2 separate regions of the Homo sapiens genome follow, and region 2 is linked to region 1. Evidence: promoter capture Hi-C in human tissues and cell types (Jung and others, 2019). All regions are on one chromosome and are shown on one strand. Each heading gives the region's core, a stretch centred on a gene start or on the middle of the fragment in contact. The rest is flanking DNA. Distances are from core to core; before and after follow the strand shown. Region 1 holds the start of PEA15 (proliferation and apoptosis adaptor protein 15). Region 2 overlaps SLAMF6 (SLAM family member 6).

The links. Contacts are between HindIII fragments. The study calls those that stand out against the background at their distance.
Region 2: a contact is called between a fragment that was not itself captured here and the fragment with the promoter of PEA15 in region 1, in 1 of the 25 tissues and cell types used here (small bowel).

Annotation. Positions count from the first base shown.
Region 1 is chr1:160,203,252-160,207,135 of GRCh38, forward strand. It overlaps PEA15 (proliferation and apoptosis adaptor protein 15), which reads left to right and starts at 2,133. Exons shown (of 4, transcript NM_003768.5): 1 at 2,133-2,271. It overlaps PEA15-AS1 (PEA15 antisense RNA 1), which reads right to left. Exons shown (of 5, transcript NR_123725.1): 3 at 2,087-3,125; 4 at 1,820-1,883. RefSeq lists enhancers at 1,339-1,438, 1,789-1,838 and a silencer at 1,989-2,248. The HindIII fragment of the contact is 6,187 bases long and covers 1-3,594 here.
Region 2 is chr1:160,511,468-160,515,524 of GRCh38, forward strand. The region is part of intron 1 of SLAMF6 (SLAM family member 6); the gene reads right to left. Among named protein-coding and RNA genes, the nearest start is that of SLAMF6, 9.8 kb to the right of the region's middle. The HindIII fragment of the contact is 3,853 bases long and covers 1-3,196 here.

The DNA.
Region 1 (3,884 bases), core at 883-3,382:
CATTATATATATATTTTTGAGATGATGCCCATAAATAATAAACATTATATATATATACATATACATATATATGTGTGTGTATATATATATATTTTTTTCTTTTTTTTTTTTTTTTTTGAGATGGAGTCTCACTCTGTTGCCAGGTTGGAGTGCAGTGGTGAGATCTCGGTTCACTGCAACCTCCGACTCCCGGGTTCAAGAGATTCTCCTATCTCAGCCTCCCAGGTAACTGGGACTACAGGTGCCCACCACCACACTCAGCTAACTTTTTTGTAGTTTTAGTAGAGATGGGGTTTCACCATGTTGGTCAGGCTAGTCTTGAACTCCTGACCTCAGGTGATCCACCTGCCTCAGCCTCCCAAAGTGCTGGGATTACAGGCGTGAGCCACCACGCCAAGCCAACATTATATTTTTCATGGATCAGGTGTAAAGTTGTTGCTGAGAGACTTAGAGGATTTCTAAGTACGGAAAGATGAGACCTGAGATTAGATATATTTTCACTCTCCACAGACAAGTCCAGGAAGTGTTCCTAGAGAATGTGGCAGGGGTGTAGAAAGCAGAAACTATGTATTCATTCCAACTTGTAGCTATTTAATAAATGTTTAATAAGTAGTATGGGCACTAAGCTAGTCTTACAATAATATTGTGGAGCTTACTGTCTAGCATAGGTCAGTGGAAGGCCCCGGTCTAAATAATAGCTCCTATTTTTTAAGCACCCATCTGTGCCAGTCCCTAGAGACTTACTATTTCTGAATCTCAGAAGAACCCTCAGAAATAGACATTGGCACCCTGATCTGACCGGTGAGGACACTAAGGCTTTCAGGCATAACTTGCCCAAGGAATGGGTGGAACTAGCACGCAGCCCAAGGCCCCTGTGTCTTGTTGCCTCCAGACCTGAGCCTTTCACTTAGAAACTACATGAGTCTCAAAGATGGGTCAACGAAATAGTTTTTGTCCCTACAACACAGAGCAAACATGATATATACAAAGGCAAATGATTAGTGTGTGACAGGGAATGCTGGGGAGAGGAAACAGCAGAGAAATGCTATGAAACCCAGAGCAGCAGGAACTTGGGCCTCTTCTAGGAATGGTGTAGACCCAAGAAAGGAGGGGCTCGTTTGAGGTTTCTGGAGGAGTCTCTGCCAGGTAGGAACTGAGATGAGATGGGTGATCCTGGAAGTGGCACAAACACTGAGGGGAATCCCCCAACCTGGGCCTGCTGGAGTTCCTGGCAGGAAGGACCTACCCAGGGTCAGACTTCTTTCCAGGGCCAAACCCTGCCCAGAGCTGAGGCAAGACCCCTTAGGCTATAGAGATGGGGGTGAAAACAGATGCTTCTCCAATTCTTCCTTTCCTCTTTTCAGTCTGGCTGAGAATCTGGGGGAGGAAAGTCCCTGGGGTAGAGGGGAAGTGAGAGCTGCCACATTGGGCCTGGGCAGAGGGGCAGAGCTAGGAGATGGAGCTAAGTGTGGCTTTGCAAGTTGTCTATATTTGCATGCTGAGCTCACTGCTGCTCTTTTTCTCCCCAGAAAATAAAATTACATCATGGTAGGGGGAAGGCAGGAGTGGGGCATGTTTGGGAAAGGTGAGAGGCACGCAAGAGGGCCTGAAGGCATCATCCTGGAAAGAGAAGATCCAGGGCTCCTCAAGTCCCCATGTGGCCCCAACCCCTCACTCCCAATGTGGATAAGTCTGATCAGTCATTTTCCACTGCGCCCCTGACCCTTAAGGCAAGGCAAGAAGTTTTTACAAATATTAAAGCCAGCAGCTAAGAGAATCCAGCCCCCAAAGGCTTTCCAACCCCCTAAACCAAACCTACTCTGTGCCTCCCAGGGGTCCTAGGCACCGTGGTCATCCAAAGGTCAAAAGGGGAGGAGGGTGCCCTACTGGGTAAGAATTAAATATGAGAATTGTTTCGCAGTTCAGGGGGAAGAGACCGTCTCCGCTCCAGCCCTCCGCCCAATTCTGTCCCCCATCCTAGGAGTCTTCCAGAACCCCAGCCCCTCGGTCCCCCGCCCCCTCCTGCCTCTCCATCCCTCCCCCTCCTCCCGCCATTCCCCGCCCCCCGCCCCTCCCCGGCTCTGACATCACCGGCCAGCCGGGTGGAGTGAGCGGCGCTGGGCTCGGGCTCCGGCTCCGCGGGCGGAAGAGGCGGCGGCGGCGGCAGAAGCGGCGGCGGCGGCGGCGGGAGCCGAGGAGGAGGTTCCGGACGCTGCTTAGGAACCGGGGACTCAGGAGTGCCCGCGCCCTGAGCGCTCAGCTCCAGAGGCGGTGAGAGGGGCGGAGAGGAGACATGTCGCGGGGAAGGGGCAGATTTCGGGGTCTAGGCTTGGAGGGGCAACGATCTGGGACACCGGGGGCCAGACGGGGAGTGTGGGGACCCCGGACGAGTCCACTTTGTGTCAGGCCTCACGGGGTCCGTCCCTCGGTCGGTGCGTCCCGAGCGCCGAGCGTGTGCTGGAGGCGGCGTGGCTCCGGCCAGCCCGTTCCACGCTGAACGGCAGTTTGGGAGTCGGACCGGGGCCTGTGGATTAGGATGCAGCCTGCTTCCCGCCCAGCCGGCTCGGCCAGGCCAGCGCCCGCCCCTCCCTCCCCGCTCAGGCTTCGGACTCGCCTCCGCTGGCGGTCTCCCGGCCCAGCCCTGTCTCGGTTCCGCGGGCGGCTGGTACCATGTGCCCTCACCCCCAGCTCACTGCACCTGGGGAAGAGGTGGGCTTGGCGGAAAGCTTGTCCAGAGGGAAGGAGGAGCTGGGGGTGTAGAGAAGTGATGTATATCTAACGTAAAAACCCTTATTAATTTCATATAATCCGTGTCAAAACTGACAGGGAAACACGCACACCTATAAGGCACGCCAGCACACACAGTGACACACACCCATGTGACTTATACACATAGTCTAGCACACTCCAAATCACAAACGTCCCTGGACTACGCATCCGGCCGCCCACCACACCCCCACTCTGTGGGGTGGGGCATCCCATGAGGAGTCTTCTGAACTGCGGGCTCCAAGTCATCAGTCCGACAGGACAGCTGAGTGGACAGAAAGGGCCACTGTCCCCAAATCCATCCTGATTTTCTGGCAGCTTTTCCCAGCCCCATGGTTTCAGATTGTTCCTCTTTAAAACTGTGGGGAAAGATGGGAGAAAATCTTGGTCTCATTCCTCTAACACAAGGAGACAGGATTTTGCGGACTAATGAGGGTAGGGGCTTCTGGTGGCTTCTCTTCCTGGGTCCAGTTAGGGCTTAGCGTGCTGGGAGTGGCTAGTTTCTGGGTAAGAGTGGCCAAGGGATGGAGGAGGAGGGGGTGGAAGAAACGGAGAGGAAAAAGAATGGGTATGAGTCAGCCAAGAATGGAACCCAAGTCAGAGAGAGAATGAGAGGAATGTGTGTGAGAAGCAGACAGACATCTCCAGAGAGGTCTAGAGATAGTCAGGGAACCAGGGAGAGGGAGGAAGTGAGAGAAAGAGATGGTCAGAGAAGTGCAAACAGTGTTTGAGAGTGCACTAAACAAATTAGGGAGGATGAAGGTTGGGGGAGACCACTGGGAGTTAGGGAAAGTGGTACGTGTGTCTGGGCCCCAGGCTGTCAGAGCGATTAGCTTTAATTGCTCTTCCCTTTGTGGTTAAATACTCCATTGGGGAAATTGCCAGTGATGCCCTAGGCTGCAGGCTTCCCTGGTTGCCTACTTCCTCAATTCCGTGCCCATCATGTGTGGATGTATTATCATGCATGAAGAGGGTCACAGAATCACAGAGCGCCTCACTCTCTCACACAGATCCTCACGCACAATGTCATGATGGATATCTTCACCAGCTGGTAGGCAGCCAACCACTGAATCTCCAAGCCACTCCGACCAAACTTACTCTGTCTTTTGTAGCAGGGA
Region 2 (4,057 bases), core at 20-2,519, 310 kb after region 1:
GGGAGAGAATGCTCTCTTTAACAAATGGTGCTGGGACAACTGGATATCCACATTCAACAGAATGAAGTTGGGCCCCTTCCTCTCATTATATGCAAAAATTATCTCAAAATGTATCGATCACCTAAATATAAGAGCTAAAACTCTTAGAAGAAAACATAATGATAAATATTCATGATTTTTGATTTGGGAATGGATTCTGATATATGACACCAAAAGCATAAGTAAGAAAAGATAAAATGTGGGGAGGGGCCAAGATGACTAACTAGAAACAGCTGTGGTTGGAGGATCCCACTGAGAAGAACGAAAACAGTGAGTGAATCCTGCACCAGCAACTAAGGTATCCAGGCTCACTCATTGGGACTGACTAGGTGGTTGGCATGACCCACAGGGAGTGAGGAAAACAGGGTGGAACAACAGCCCACCTGGAAGCTGATGGGGCAAGGGGTGCTCCCACCCCCAGCCAAGGGAAGTGGTGAGTGATTGTGCTACCCCACCCAGGAAACCATGCTTTTTCCATGGATCTGTGCAACCCATGGACCAGGAGATCCCCTCGTGAGCCAACACCACAAGGGCCTTGGATCCCAAGCACAGAGCTGTGCAGATTCTCAGCTGCCACTTGGCTGGAGACCGTCTAAGACTACTGAGTTCTTGGGGGAAGGGGCAGCAGCCATCACTGCAGCTTCTGTCTGCTGCTTTCCCCTGCCAGTGCCAGAGGGACTGGTGGTTTGGAACCAGGAGGAATTCCCCATGGTGCAGCACAGCAGCTGTGGCAGACTGTGGCCAGACTGCATCTTTAGGCTGGACCCAGACTCATCCCTCCTCACTGAATGGGACCTCCCTGTGGGAATTTCAGCAACTCCAGCCAAGGGTTTATGGACAGAACCCTGATCTCCCTGGGATTGAGTCCCTGTGGGTACTGGGGCTGCGGACTCTGTGGATCATCAGACTTAGTCTTTTCCCCTGCTGGCTCTGAGGAATCTGGGCAGTCTGGATAAGTAGGATCCCCCCCACCACAGCACATCCTTTCTGCCAAGGGACAGACAGAATGCTTCATTAAGTGGGTCCCTTATCTTGTGACTCCTGACTGGGTGAGACTCCCCAGCAGGGGTTACCAGACACTTTATACAGGAGCACTCCCACTGTCATCAGTTTGGTGCCCCTCTTGGACGGAGCTCCCAGAGGAAGAAGCAGGCAGCCATCTTTGCGGTTCTGCAGCCTCCACTGGTGACACCACCAGGGTGGGGAGGGACCCAGGTGAATAGGATCTGGAGTGGGCCCCCAGCAAACTGCAGCAGTCTTGCAAAAGAGGGTCCTGTCTGCTAAAAGAAAAACAAACAGAAAGCAACAACAACAGCATCAACAAAAAAGTCCCCACAAAAAGCCCATCCAAAGATCAGCAGACTCAAAGATCAAAGCTAGATAAACTCAGGAAGATGAGAAAGAATCAATAAAAAATGCTGAAAACTCAAAAAGCCAGAGTGTCTCTTCTCCTCCAAATGATTGTAACACCTCTCCAGCAGGGCACACAACTGGGCTCAGGCTGAGAAGGATGAACTGACAGAAGTAGGCTTCAGAAGGTGGGTAATAATGAACTTTGCCGAGCTAAAGGAGTATGTTCTAACTCAATGCAAAGAACCTAAGAATCAGGATAAAACATTACAGGAGCTATTCATCAGAATAACCAGCTTAGAGAGGAACATAAATGACTTGATGGAACTGAAAAACACAACATGAAAACATCACAATGCAATCATAAGTATCAATAGCCGAATAGACCAAGTGGAGGAAAGAATTTAAGAGATTGAAGACTATCTTGCTGAAATAAAATAGGCAGACAAGATTAGAGAAAAAGGAATGAAAAGGAACAAACAAAATCTCTGAGAATTATGGGATTATGTAAAGAGACCGAACCTACAACTGATTATGGTACCTGAAAGAGACAGGTGAATGAAACAAAGTTGGAAAACATACTTCACGATATCATCCAGGAGACTTCCCCAACCTAGCAAGACAGGCCAACATTCAAACTCAAGAAATACAAAGAACCCAGTAAGATACTCCATGAGAGGATCAACCACAAGACACATAATTATTAGATTCTTCAAGGTCAAAATGAAGGAAAAAATGTTAAGGGCAGCCAGAGAGAAAGGCCAAGTCACCTACAAAGGGAAGCCCATCAGAATAACATCAGGCCTCTCAGCAGAAACTTTACAAGCCAGAAGAGATTGGGGGTCAATATTCAACATTCTTAAAGAAAAGAATTTTCAACCCAGAATCTCATATCTGGCCAAATGAAGCTTCATAAGCAAAGGAGAAATAAAATATTTTTCAGACAATCAAATGCTGAGGGAATTCATCCACCACCAGGCTTGACTTGCAAGAGCTCCTGAAGGAAGCACTAAATATGGAAAGGAAAAGCCATTATCAGCCACTACAAAACATACTGAAGTACACAATGAAGACCAATGAAACTGTGAAGCAACTACATCAATAAGTCTGCAAAATAACTAGCTAGTATCATGATGACAGGATCAAATTCACACATAACAATACTAACTTTAAATATAAATGTGCTAAGTGCCCCATTTAAAAGACACAGAATGGCAAGCTGGGTAAATTGTGAAGACCCATTGGTGTGCTGTATTCAAGAGACTCATCTCACATGCAAACACACACATAGGTTCAAAATAAAGGGATAGAGGAAAATCTACCAGGCAAATGGAAACCAGAAAAAAGCAGGGATTGCAATCCTAGTTTCTGACAAAATAGACTTTAAAGCAATAAAGACCAAAAAAGACAAAGAAAGGCATGGTAAAGGGTTCAATTCAACAAGAAGAACTAACTATCCTAAATATGTATGCACCCAATACAAAAGCAGATTCCTAAAATAAGCTCTTAGAGACGTACAAGGAGATGTAGACTCCCACACAATAATAGCGGGAGACTTTAACATCCACTGTCAATATTAGGCAGATCATTCAGACAGAAAATTAACAAAGATATTCAGGACTTGAACTCAGCTCTAGATCAAGTGGACCTGATAGACCTCTACAAAACTCTCCATCCTACAACAACAGAATATTCATTCTATGCATTGCCACATGGAACTTACTCTAAAATTGATCACATAATTGGAAGTAAAACACTCCTCATCAAATACAAAAGAACTGAAATCACAACAAACAGTCTCTCAGACCACAGCATAATCAAATTAGAACTCAAGACAAAGAAACTCACTCAAAATCACATAGCTACATAGAAATTGAACAACCTGCTCCTGCATGACTCCTGGTTAAATAATGAAATTAAGGCAGAAAGCAAGAAGTTCTTTGAAACCAATGAGAACAAAGAGACAATGTATCAGAATCTCTGGATGCAGCTAAAGCAGCTGTTAAGAGGGAAATTTAGAGCACTAAATGCCCACATCAAAAACCTAGAAAGATCTCAAATTGAAATGCTAACATTAAAACTAAAAGAACTGGAGAACCAAGAGCAAACAAACTCCAAAGCTGGCAGAAGACAAGAAATAACCAAGATCAAAGCAGAACTGAAGGAGATAGATAAAAGAAGAATGCTTCAAAAAAATCAAGGAGTCCAGAATCTGGTTTTTTGAAAAACTAATAATATAGATAGACTGCTAGTTAGCTAGACTAACAAAGAAGAAAAGAGAGAAGAATCAAATGGACACAATAAAAAATGTTAAAAGAGGATATCACTACTGACCCCACAGAAATAAAAACAATCATCAGAGAATACTATAAACACCTCTATGCACATAACCTAGAAAATCTAGAAGAAATGGATAAATTCCTGGACACATACACCCTCCCAAGACTGAACCAGGAGGAAGCTGAATCCCTGAATAGACCAATAACAAATTCTGAAATTGAGACAGTAATAAATAGTCTAAAAGAAAAAGCCCAGGACCAGAAGGATTTACAGCTGAATTCTACTAGAGGTACAAAGAGGACCTGGCACCATTTCTTCTGAAACTATTCCAAACAATTGAAAAGGAGGGACCCTTCCCTAATTCATTTTATGAGGCCAGTATCATCCT